2 separate regions of the Homo sapiens genome follow, and region 2 is linked to region 1. Evidence: promoter capture Hi-C in human tissues and cell types (Jung and others, 2019). All regions are on one chromosome and are shown on one strand. Each heading gives the region's core, a stretch centred on a gene start or on the middle of the fragment in contact. The rest is flanking DNA. Distances are from core to core; before and after follow the strand shown.

Region 1 (6,475 bases), core at 1,793-4,292:
TCAGCTGTAGTCAGTACTCCACAGAGGGTAGCTGTTTTTAATTAAACATGAACGTGGCGGGTATGGGATATGGGGAGGGCATTCTGGCCAGAGGGAGTGGCATGCGGACAGAAGCCAGAGAAAGCATAGCTCCTTGAAGGGAGGATCTAGAGGATGGGGCTGGGTGAACTGGAGGGTGAGTAATAGGAGATGGCTGGAGAGGGGCTGGGGACCCTCCTGCAAGGGGAGGAGCACTTCATTCCATGCCAGAGAATTGGGCTTGACTCTGTGAGTAGGAGGGTAGCAAGTGGAATTGCCCACCAAGTTCTCTCTGTCATAGTCACCACCAGCTATTCTTGAACACTTTAACCCTCTAGAGCCCCATAAAATTTATAAACATCACCTTTTACTCTTGGATGTTGGCCCTTTTAATGATCACATATCATCTCACTTAAATTGTCTAGACGAATGTAAACTGGTTGATGAATTTACACATTTCTCAACAACTATCTGCTGAGTGAACATTTGTTTTAGTCACCATGGGGATAAATAAAACTTTATAATCTTAGTTGGGAGAATGAGACACACACACAAAGTGACAAGGCAGGAAATGCCAAAATGAGTGGGAACAAAAAGTCGGGAAGTGCTGGAGGAAGGCTCAGCTTGGTGGTCAGGGCCAGCCCTGGGAGGGCTTCACCGCCCCTCTTGGCACACAGAGCTGGTAATCCTGGACAATAAACTCTATCACAGCGGTGGCGGTTCAAGGATGGGAGGCACTGTTGGATGCCTCAGAGTCCCAGCACCACTACCTTATGACAGACAATGCTTAGAATTGTCAATGCATGGTGGTAATAGAAAGTAAACCTATCTTGGGTTGATTTTATTAGTGATTTTAAATTTTCTAAAGACAAAGCCCCACTTATTCCTAATTGCTTGCACCCAGGGTGGGTGGACTGCCCCTTCCCTGCCCCACCCGCCACCACTTGCTTAGCCGCTGTCTCTGGGTCTTAGTTGCAGAATCAGCAAAAGGGGATAAATACCCACCTTAACAAGGTGTTTTGACAAGGTGAAATGAGACAATCCAAGTGAAAATTCCTTCTGGCCCAGGGCTTGACATGGAATATGGCACTTAGCAAGCGCTCCTTTTCCTCTATCATACTCCTTTCTTCTTTCCCTCCCAAAGTGGTTCCAGAATCCAGTGTTGATAAACTAGCCAAGTTCATCCACCTGCCTTTCTGTCTACACCAGCACTGTCCATATTAACATGCACCACTCCTGCCATGAGGATGTAAGAAGCTTGGCAGAAACCAGTACGCTTTGACTTCACTCCCTAATGAGGCTACACACCTTGCTGGGAGGCCACTGTGAGAAAGGGTGCAGCATTTCTATAAGCTCTGTTCTCCACCCCATGATCCAAATCTCAAACAAAACACTGGATTCTCAAGAGCGTGTCCTCAAACTACATTGTGCAAATTACATAATGGTATGTGAAATCATATCTCATCGCAAACAATTTTTCAGGAGTTCTCGGTGTTCTCTCAAACACTTTCGGCAACAATGCTCACTTATCTGCAGGCAGGCTAGTTACTGCTAAACACTGGGCCCCAGTCTGGAGCTCTTAGTTTTCCCAAAAGCATCTCAAAACTCACCCTGAACAAAGACAGAGAGGCGAGAACATGCTATGTCTTTGTCACCTCTTAATCTTGATGTGTCTACACTTTTTTTTGAGTGTGGGAGCAATATAGAGTGCACATTCTTTTAGCGATAACAAGAAAACCCGCTAGAACTTCTTTCAGCGTAAAAAAAATGGCTCAAAGCTTATAAAATACTATTGTTATTAGGAAATTCAAAAACACTTTTCTCACTTTCTAATTAGCGCCTTTACAGGCTAAAAACAACTCATCTGTGCTGCTCTTGGGGAAAGGGATACAGAAAATATTTGACCAAATAAATTAATCAAATTTATTTATTTGGTCAAGTGGCCAGATACTTAAAAATAGACTACTAGTGGGGAAAATATTCTAGGGGAGCAACCTTCTTGCAGTGGATCAGAAATCTCGTTAAGAAATACTGGGATCCCACAGTGTTCGAGGGAGCCCGGTCCTGGGGAGGGATCTCTCTCTTCAACTCACTTAGAAGGAATGGGTTCTAGGTAACAACAAAATCCTCTCCATGTCCCCTCCCCCGCCACCACGCGGAGCCTCTGCTATTGTCACCATATATCTCGCACCCTGCGCACCTCCTGGACACAAGGCCGGGCCGGGGGCTGCTGGTACTGATTCTCTGCTAAACATGCCAAGGGACTGCCTGGGCTTTTCTCTACATCACTTTTCTCGCCTGTAAAATGTGCAAGAAAAAAACTTCCAACAAAGCAAAACTTCAGCGGCAGCGGTTCGCCACTTTATATTTTAAAGATCGAAACGTTTATTGGTGGAGCAACGTGAGAGCTTTTCTTTTTGGGGGTGGTCCTGGGAGAAACACAATGACAAGTGCAACGCAGGACTGCAGGCTCCCCCAGGGGGCTTCCGCTCCATCCTCCTCCATATCCAACACCCCGTGGCAGGCGGGCTGCACCCTCCAAGATCGAGTCCAAAGGGGCATCGGCTGGGCCCGCGAAGGGGGTGGCACGCCCCACCTAAACGTGACTGGAAAAAACTCCAGATCTCAGCCCAAATGCCAGTTTGGCTTTCGGAGGAAACTGAGGCAGGGGTGAGGAGAAGGCGCAACAGTGACCCCCGCAGTCTCCCCTCGGCGTCCCTCCGCCCGCGCACCCCATTCCCGTGCATCTCTCACCTGGCCTGCGGGCCCGGGTGCGGGCAGACAACAGCGGGCCGCACAGACTGAAGCAGGCGGCCACCAGCAGCAGCCGCCGCGGCCCCATTGTCCCGGGCTCTGCGCGGCGCTGCTCCGGGAGGCTGCCCCGCCTCGGGCTGCTCCGCTTCACCCTCTCTCCTGACTTCTGCGGGTCGGGGAGCCGGTCTTCGCGGCAGGCAGAGCGCAGGGTGCCCACGGGTAAGATCAGGGTCCAAGCGACCCTCGGCGAGCGCTGTGTCTGGGGCGGTTAGCGGGGCGGGGCGGGACTGGGGCGCGCGGTCGCGCGGGCGCGAGCGAGGAAGGGCGCCCTCCGGCGTGCAGTGAGAGTCTCTGCGCTGGAGCCGCTCGGCGCCCCCTCCCCGCGGTCCCTCAGCCGCCGCTCGCAAGCCCCTCTGGCTCTGTGCGCCCCGCCCCGCCCCGCCCTGCCCTACTGGGGGGCCCTGGCCGCCGGCCACTGCCGGGCCTAGAAGTCCAAATGAGAAGTTTTTTCCTCTGGGCACCGTTGATTCGCGAAGCTGTCAGTGACTCACACTGGCGGGGTCCTTGGAATGGGGCCGCACGGCTCGCAGGCTGCTTCCCGCGGCCGTCTCGACCCTCCTGGGATGTGGAGACGTCGACAGTGGACGCCCCGGCCAGGATGCGTCCACGCCCTGCAGCCCCGCAGCCCTGGCGTGGCCTCCCGTCCTCCCTCCCTCCGTGTGGGACACCGGCAAAGTTCAGTTTTCGCTAAAAGTCTAAAAGGGACTTCTGCTTTTGTAACGTGGGGATCACGGATTTAAAAGTTTATGATGTAGTGACAGGGTTGCCCCTAAATGAGAAAGGGCCCTTGAGTCTGGACAGAATTCTTGAACTTTTATACGTCTCTCTTTATTTCGCGAAGTTAGGCGTTTCATACGCCGGGCACTCGTTTCCCCCACACGCAGACTGCGAGTGGAATAGGAAGAGCGGCTTCTCCCGCTTCCCCCCCGCGCGGCCTCGCGGAGCTCTTCCCTTTCCCGCGCCGCCCGCCGGGGTCACCTGCGCATCTGGGAGGAGGGCGCGCGTCTGCCGGTGAGGCCGGCGTTCTAGGGCCGCGGGCGCCCAGGAGAGAAATGGCCTGGTAACTTTCCAAGTGTCCTTCACACGTTCTTGAACGATATTACAGTTTGTTTTGTTTTTGAGGCAGGGTCTTGCCCTGTCGCCCAGGCTGGAGTGCAGTGGCGCCAACACGGCTCACTGCAGCCTCGATCTCCCTGGCTCAGGCCACCCTTTCGCCCCAGCCTCCGGATTACCTGGGACCACAGAAAGGCGCGCGCCACCATGTCCGGCTAATTTCACTGCTGGCCTCAAGCGATCCTCCTGCCTCAGCCTCCTAAAGTGCGGGGATTACAGGCGTGAATCACCGCGCCAGGCCTGATATTAAAGGAGTTTGGCTAAATTCAAGGCACAGGGCGGGGACACTCGCTTGGCAGTCTGCTAAGGGCCCCCAGGGGCGTCGCGGCTGGGGGTGGGCAGGAGGAGCCTGCAGCTTAAGTTGCTTTGCCACTGGCTCTGGTGCGTGCGCCTTTCAGACTCCAACAGGAAATGGGTCCCCAAATAGCTGTTTCTAGGAAAGCTCAGCCGCAGCCCCTTCTCCTCTTAACCCAGCGCACTGATGTGCGGGCATATTCGGAGTTCTGTGGTTGATAAGCTGCAGCTGAGAGCCGGTGGTCAGTTTTCTAAGCCTTTTTTAAAAGTGAATTTCGCACGAAGAGTATCATTCCCCCACTAGAGCCCGGACACTTACATCCGTGGAGAAAGTACGATCAGAGGCGATTTCGTTCTTCCCTGTATTCTCCCATCATCCTCAAAGGACAGTACCTTGTTGTACACAGAAGTTGATCACTAAATTGCGGAAGTACCCAGTTAAATAAAGCTTTTTAAAATCTATCCCCGTTCAGTTATCCTCTGGAAACATACCCAAGAGTAAATGTGAACAGTTAAAATTACATAGTTCTTCATTCACTATTAAACTATTTTTCATTATTCCTAAGACGTCATTGATTTTACAATTTATCATTTTAACCCATTACCACAAGCCAGAAAAAAATGTGACATACCAATGATTGTAAGAAACACTCCAATTTCAGGGTTATGAAGAAAAGGCATTTTAGAATCAATGAAACACAGTGGAAAATATAAACACATATGACAAAATTTCTGATAGTTGAAGGATATGAAATGAAAAATAAATTACCTTCTGCCTCCCCTCCCCTAGTTGCCATCTGACCACTAAGTTTCCCCTCCTTCCTTCCTTCCTTCCTTCCTTCCTTCCTTCCTTCCTTCCTCCCTCCCTCTCTTCCTTCCTTCCTTCCTCTCTTCCTTCCTTCCTCTCTCTCTCTCTCTGTCTTTCTTATTTTCTTTCTTTCTTTTTTTTCCTGAGGCGGAGTTTCACTCTTGTTGCCCAGGCTGGAGTGCAATGGCGCGGACTCGGCTCACAGCAACCTCCGTCTCCTGGGTTCAAGCGATTCTCCTGCCTCAGCCTCCCGAGTACTTGGGATTACAGGCGCCTACCACCGCGCCTGGCTAATTTTTTGTATTTTTAGTAGAGACTGGGTTTCACCATATTGGCCAGGTTGGCCTCAAACTCCTGAACTCAGGTGATCCACCCGCCTTAGCCTCCCAAAGTGCTGGGATTACAGGCATGAGCCACCGCATCCAGCTACCTGACCACTAAGTTTCTGTTCACCATTCAAAAAATCATATCCACATACAAATTGCATATATGTATATCCTTAAAATAAGAATGGAATAATACCACCACATTTTAAAATTTTATCTGTGTCATTGGTGGAAAATGTTATTTTTAACCATTTTACAAAACGATAAAGCTTAAAAGGATGCTTTGGGGTCTTAGTTGTTAGAACAAAATGTACCTCTAGTGACAAAAAGACGTACAATGAAGGCTGGGTGCAGTGGCTCACACCTGTAATCCCAGCACTTTGAGAAACTGAGGCGGTCAAATCACTTGAGGTCAGGAGTTAGAGACCAGCCTGGCCAGCATAGAGAAACTCCGTCTCTACTAAAAATACAAAAATTAGCCGGGCTTGGTGGTGTGCACCTGTAATCCCAGTTACTTGGGAGGCTGACGCAGGAGAATCACTTGAACCTGGGAGGCAGAGTTTGCTGTGAGCCAAAATTGCACCACTGCACTCCAGTCTGGGCAACAGAGCAAGACTCTGTCTCAAAAAAACAAAAACAAAAGCAAAAAAAAAAAAAAAAACAAAAATAATGAAATGCTTAAATGCTTTGTGCATATTGACTAAAGGATTCCTTCTAGGAATATTTCTGCCAGTTGTATTTTTTGAGGCTTGTTTGGTACATGTTTATCTAATTCTTTTTAAATAGTATACTATTCCCTTGTATACATATAATAAATTTTAGTCTTCTAAAACTATTTTATCTGTAGTGTTGTCCCCATTTATATTCCTAACATAGCTAATTTTTTGCTTTTTTCCCTTTATCTGACCAGAGGTCAGAAATGACTATTTTCTAATGCCCGTCTTTTTGCTCCGTTACTTTTATTTTTATTTATAAACACAGATTTTTAATTCATTCTTTTCCTCTACTTTCTTTGAGTTTACTCTTTAGCATAATTTTTTTTTTTTTTTTTTTTGAGACGGAGTCTCGCTGTATCGCCCAGGCTGGAGTGCAGTGGCGCGAT
Region 2 (6,475 bases), core at 2,163-4,662, 160 kb before region 1:
CCTCCTAGCTGGTTGCCTGCCACGATTGCCATCTCTATAGTCCTTTCTTTACACAGTAGTTAGGGTAATCATTTACACGCATAAATATAATCATATCACTCCCTTTCTTAAAATTCTCCAAAGGATCTATCATAGTTTGGGTTCCCCAAGAGGGAGACCCTGAGGCCAGGGTTCGTGTAGAAGTCATTTATTTGAGAGATGCAGAAAACTCAGGGTTGGAGCAGGAAAGTGAGATAAGGAAGAAAAGGTGGCCTCCCTTGGGGCCTACCGAGGCTCAGCCCCAGGGGGAAACAGTGGGAAATAGTGTCAAACACTTGCCTCAGAATTATCCAACCCAAGGGGCAAAGGAGGGTATTTATATGCCAGCTCACAAGAGCTGCTGGCTTCAGCTCTCTCGGCTTGACCACCTAGCCCTGAACCTATCCATTCCCTGACGAAATCACTGAAAAAGCCAGCACTTCTGCTTAGCCGCCTTTCTGCTCATAGACCCTCACACCTTCCATCTGAAACACAGTCACAAGAGAATGAGGAAACCCAGTTAATTTTTTTTAATAGGGTAAGAAGTTCAAAATACAATTTAAGGATATGAATGTCCATCTTAGAAATTTGCCAAATTCAAGTCTCATTTGAAAGTAGCTAAATTTTTGTAATGCCCTCGTTTTGACAAACCAAAAAGATGCATATAGCCTCTTAATAATACAGGCAAGTTTCAAGTAGGGCATATGAGATTTAGAATATCTACATAAAGTCAATATTTTAAGGGGCACATAATTCAATAGTAGCAATTAATTATTAATATATGCACTGGATATTATAGCTATAAATGACATTACTGGGTCTATAGATCTGAACGGTATAAATGAACATTAAGTACATAACTTTGGATATATTTCTGCCTTTAGATGAGCTTATTACTTACCTTTATTTTCCTTTCTTCTTCAATTGTTCTACAAAGTAATCATTACAAGCAACTGTCAGAGCTGCCACCATGACCACGAATTCATTAAAATCCACTTCGTTGTCCTTATTGGCATCCAGGTCCTGCACTATCTTATCAACCAACTGGGTTTCCTTTTGGCACTAAAATGAGAAAGGAAATTTCTAACTCCCTGGCTCTGAGGTTCATGATGACAATTGAAATTCATCTTCCTTTTATTTACATTAAATTCCTAATTTCCATTTATAGCATCTAAAGACATTTTCTAAGAACCTATTTACAGGTAGGTGTAAACCAGCCACGAATTCTAAACGAATCTAGCCCCCTGCCCCAGCTCCATATAATCCTGGCTCAGACCTAGAAACCAAGAAAAGCAAACAGCAGCTGATCAAAGTGAGTGACTGTTGCTAAAAACACATTTACAGGACATCACAGGTTGAGAGCCAGGACACTAGGAGATAGTCGAGTGACATAGAAAGAGGGAGGATTTGAAGCCAAAAAGGAGAAAAATACCAACGAGCGAATTTGAGCAAATCGCGTAACATTTTAAATGCTTTTATTTATAAAATTGGGAGGATAATTTCTATCCACACATTTCAGGGATACTTCATCACACTTTTGAAAGTGCTTAGAGCACCAGGGTCGCTAGATTTAGCAAATAAAAATACTAGATACCTAGTTAAATTTGAATTTCAAATAAACAACAAATAACTTTTAGTTTTAGTATGTCTCAAGTATTGTATAGGACACAAAATATTTTATCTGGCAGCCTACTTAGCACAGTGTGCCTGACACACAGAAGAGAGGCACCCAAAGAAAGGTAGGTCTTATAAAGATGCCTGCATTTTATGGGTGGAAAGCAAAGAGAAGAGGGAAGACAAGGTTCACGAAGGTTGGAACTGTGAAGCACCCACCTCTCCTGTGACTGGTGTTGATGAGGAGTGTTTCCAAAAGCAGTTCATTTCCTCCAGGAAATCCCCATGCCCCCCTCATTTTCTGCTAACCATTAAATGGTCAGAGAAAAACTTAATTGATCAAAACCAACTTGATTAAAACAATTATAAATTGTACTTGATTAAATAAATGTGCGAAGTTTGACCTACTGAGTTTTTATGCTAAATGTTAAACAGTACAGTAGCCAAAGTTGGCCCCACACAGTGGCTCACGCCTGTAATCTCAGCACTTTGGGAGGCCGAGGCAGGCAGATCACTTGAGGTCAGGAGTTCGAGACCAGCCTGGCCAACATAGTGACACTCTGTCTCTACTAAAAATACAAAAAACTTAGCTGGGTGTCGTGGTGCATGCCTGTAATCCCAGTTACTCCGGAGGCTGAGGCACAAGAATCACTCGAACCTGGGAGGTGGAGATTGCAGTGAGCCGAGATCGTGTCACTGCACTCCGGCCTAGGAGACACAGCAAGACTCCATCTCCGAAAAAAAAAAAAATACAGTAGCCAAACGGAATGAGAGGAAAAGAAAAGTTTGTGGGAATTCTAAGATCACTATAAAAATGTCGTGAAGACTAAGTTAAAAAATACTTTATAGAGCTTTTCCCAAATAGAGGGTGGGGAGAAACATGTGTTGTAATTAACAGTCTCTGTAGTCTTAACACAAGGTTTGGAGAGAATAACATCACACGAGGGTAGCATATTGTGCTAAAAATCAGTTTAAGTCAACTCTATAAACACCAGCGTGAAGTGTTTTCCTTGGAGGAGGCCCCAAACGCTACAATGTACGGCTTCATATATTAATCTCTCAAACTCCTGGCTATTTTGAGAAATGAATCTGTTTGCTACCCCACTGGTCACTGGCCAAACACATCCTTCTATCAATCCCAATCAGTCTGTGCTCGGCTGACAAAGCTCTCTAAGTATTTGCCATTCACTAGAAAATTTGCCACCATAGCATGAAGTACCCCACCTCTGAAGGTAAAGTACCCCTTCACCTCTGGCCCAATACATAATTTACAGACAGCTGGACCAAGCTCCAGGTATAACTAGCTGTAACTAGTTATAACTATAACTCTGGCTATAATTAGCTACATCTTTGCCGCACCAGAATGTTAATTGGTGAAAGTCAAAAATACAATTTTTACCACTTAGAAACCCTAACCCCAGGTAACACGAAAAAGGGCACATGCCTATGTACACAGAAAACAAACGTCTCCAGTGTTTGCTTCCCCTATATTTTGAATCTCTGTACAAATTTGGCTGCATTTGTGACAGAATCACAGGACAGTATGAACCCAAAGGCTGTCCTGGAATCTGCACCTCATCTACCCTCAAATGAATACAGCATTTACAAAGGCCTGACTCACCGAGAGGAATTCCGTGAGCTCTCGCTGCAGGAGCAGTTTCAGTTCCCCCTTGCTGAGCTTGAATCTCTTCCTTTCCTTGCCAGAATAGCGGTGGAAGATTCTAATCATGGTGTCCATGGCCATCTCGAGCTGGGTGGGCATGTCGGCAGCAGAACTGACCACTCCAGAAGCAGGCCACCAAACCCGGGGAGAAGACACTTGTTCAGAATAAACAGATGAGGAAACACCAACACTTTCATTAAAACAGAATATTACAATCCCCCGAGTCAGCTCGCCACACAAGTGATGGTTGTTAAAAACATAATAGTCTGCGCAGGCGCGGTGGCTCAAGCCTGTAATCCCAGCACTTTGGGAGGCAGAGATGGGTGGATCACAAGGTCAGAAGATCGAGACCATCCTGGCTAACACGGTGAAACCCCGTCTCTACTAAAAATACAAAAAAAAATTAGCCGGGCGCGGCGGCGGGCGCCTGTAGTCCCAGCTAGCTACTCAGGAGGCTGAGGCAGGAGAACGGCGTGAACCCGGGAGGCGGAGTTTGCAGTGAGCCGAGATCGCGCCACTGCACTCCAGCCTGGGCGACAGAGCGAGACGCCGTCTCAAAAAAAAAAAATTAATAATAATAATAGTCTTTCATTAAAGAGTGTTCCACCCTTGCTGGGGCAAGCTGCAAATAAGCACTTCGCAGCTGAGTTGTTTCTCCTCGCTAATCCCTACACCCCCAAGAGGTAGCAGCTCCAGCATATTCATAAGACAACCAGGTAACAGGTACAAAGTCAAACTAAAATATAGAATTTAAAAATAAATAAAAATAGGAAGGAAAATACCTACCTGTTCAACAGATACACAGCTCTGTCAATGGTTGTTTACCATTAAACTATAAGCATTTATACGTGGGGGAGGGGGAAACGTTCTCCCCAGCACACCTGTTTCCGGGAAGATGAAAATTGCCAGTGACAAGAGATTCAAAGGGAGGTGCCTCTGCTCCGTATTTAATCACCAAAATGAACAGGTGTGAGCTGCTGCCCCAAGGGTCATTGAAGAAGGCTAGTGCTCATTGGGTGCATTAGATAAGAAGGCAAAGACAAAGCAAGAGGAAGCCTTATCTCTCTTTAGGGGAGTGTGGATAGAAATGCAATTAGTTGCTAGGAAGCTGATGATGGGGAAGAACTCTAAAAATAGGGGAGCAAAGAAGAAACACTAGTTCCAACCTGGAGATGACTCAGCAAAGCCAATAGCAAGGACAAGGGAGTAAATTCATAGTAGATTAAACTAACCCAAAGGACAGTTGAAAAAAAAAAAAAAAGAGGAAGTGCTCCACGCACTGATTTAGAAAGGTACAAAGCAGTGCTCCCAACTGTGTAAAAAAGAAATAATACATGTGTATGTGTGCTTGCAGTTACCTAAGGAGTCACTGAAAGGAAACAAAATATAATACTATGTTGGGAGCTGTCAGGGGTAAGGGGGGAAAGGGTAGAACAGAGTGGTTGGGAGTAAGACTTCCCAGTGTACACCTTTTTAAGTGATTTTAACTTTTTCAGTTATAGGAATGTATTACCTAATAAAAAAGTTGAAATAAACCTCAGAGCAGCTGTGTGTGCAGGAATCCACAACAGATTTCCAAGTGAGAGAAACTTAATAAAGAAAGAGTCCATGTAAAAACCAAAGCCAGATATTGGCCACTGTGCTTTTAAATCCTGCCTGTTCTCTCAGGACTGAAACTTAATTATACGGAAAGCAAGCCAGGATCTCCTTTTTATTTCCCTTCAACAAAGTAGTCAGTATGTAACCTCAACCATCCCATCTGCCCCTGGCCTTGCTGCCTGGCTACTCCACTGCAACCTCCCTGCAAGGTTCCCAGGAGGTGTTCACTGTACACCTAACACAAAATTTTCAAACATATTCAGGCTGGGCACAGTGGCTCAATCCTGTAATCCCAGCACGTTGGGAGGCAGATCACTTGAGGTCAGGAGTTCGAGACCACCCTGACCAAAATGGTGAAACCCTGTCTCTACTAAAAATACAAAAATTAACTGGATATGGTGGTGCACGCCTGTAGTCCCAGCTACTCGGGAGGCTGAGGCAGGAGAATTGCTTGAACCCAGGAGGTGGAGGTTGCAATGAGCCAAGATCACGTCCCTGCACTCCATCCTGGGTGACAGTGAGACTCCGTCTCAAAAAAAAAAAAAAAATTGTTAGTTTTTATTGTCAAAGTAATATAGGTAAAATAATATTTTGAATACTTAGGAGTATGAAATAGTAAAATTCTCTCTCACCATTCCCTACCCTAGTAATTACCCTTTGTAAATTTTTCCTGTGTGGGAGGCAGTATCATGGTGGCTAAAAGCATGAACTGCCTGGCTTTACCTCTCACCTCTGCCACTAGTTGTGTGATCCTGTGCTGGTCAATTAGCATCTATGCTGCATTTTCCCCATTAGTCTAAATGGGGATGACCATAGCACCTACTCAGAATGGAAAAAACAAACTCTATACAATATTTATTTTATTTATTTATTTATTATTATTTTTGAGGCAAGGTCTGACTCTGGTTGCCCAGGCTGGAGTGCAGTGGTGCCATCACAGCTCACTGCAGCCTCGACCTCCTGGGCTCAGACAATTCTTCCATCTCAGCCTCCCAAGTAGCTGGGACTACAGGTTCACACCACCATGCCTGGCTAATTTTTATTTTTATTTTTGTATTTGTAGTAGAGATGGGGTTTTGCCATGTTGCCCAGGCTGGTCTTGAACTCCTGAGCTCACGCAATCCGCCTGCCTTGGCCTCCCAAAATGCTGGGATTACAGGTGTGAGCCACTGCACCCAGCCTTATTTTATTTATTTTTTTAAGACAGAGTCTTGCTCTGTCACCCATGCTGGAATGCAGTGGCCCAGTAATGGCTCACTGCACCTCAACCTCCCAGGCTCAAGCGATCCTCCTGCTTCAGCCACCTGAGTAGCTGGGACAACAGGCACATGTTATCATGCCTGACTAATTTTTTTATTTTTGTAGATATGGGGTCTCCCTATGTTTCCCAGGCTGGTGTCAAACTCCTGGCCTCAAGTGATCCTCCTGCCTTGGCCTCCCAAAGTGCTGGGATTACAGGCTTTAGCCACCTTACATTGTCTCTGTGAAATACTTAAAGAGGTTTATTTTGAGCCGATATGAGTGACCACGGCCCAGGGAACTGTCTCAAGAGGTCCTAAGAAGGTATGCCCAAGGTGGCAG

What was found. Contacts are between HindIII fragments. The study calls those that stand out against the background at their distance.
Region 2: a fragment that was not itself captured here is called in contact with the fragment with the promoter of F2R in region 1 in 1 of the 25 tissues and cell types used here (H1 embryonic stem cells).

What each region holds. Positions count from the first base shown.
Region 1 is chr5:76,712,693-76,719,167 of GRCh38, reverse strand. It overlaps F2R (coagulation factor II thrombin receptor), which reads right to left and starts at 3,042. Exons shown (of 2, transcript NM_001992.5): 1 at 2,773-3,042. The coding sequence starts at 2,860. It overlaps NCRUPAR (non-protein coding RNA, upstream of F2R/PAR1), which reads right to left. Exons shown (of 1, transcript NR_028375.2): 1 at 6,280-6,475. RefSeq lists enhancers at 192-692, 693-1,193 and a silencer at 2,987-3,236. The HindIII fragment of the contact is 3,629 bases long and covers 1,537-5,165 here.
Region 2 is chr5:76,872,279-76,878,753 of GRCh38, reverse strand. It overlaps S100Z (S100 calcium binding protein Z), which reads right to left. Exons shown (of 5, transcript NM_130772.4): 3 at 3,254-3,450; 4 at 920-1,080. The coding sequence starts at 3,394. The coding sequence ends at 922. Among named protein-coding and RNA genes, the nearest start is that of S100Z, 26 kb to the right of the region's middle. The HindIII fragment of the contact is 9,432 bases long and covers 1-6,475 here.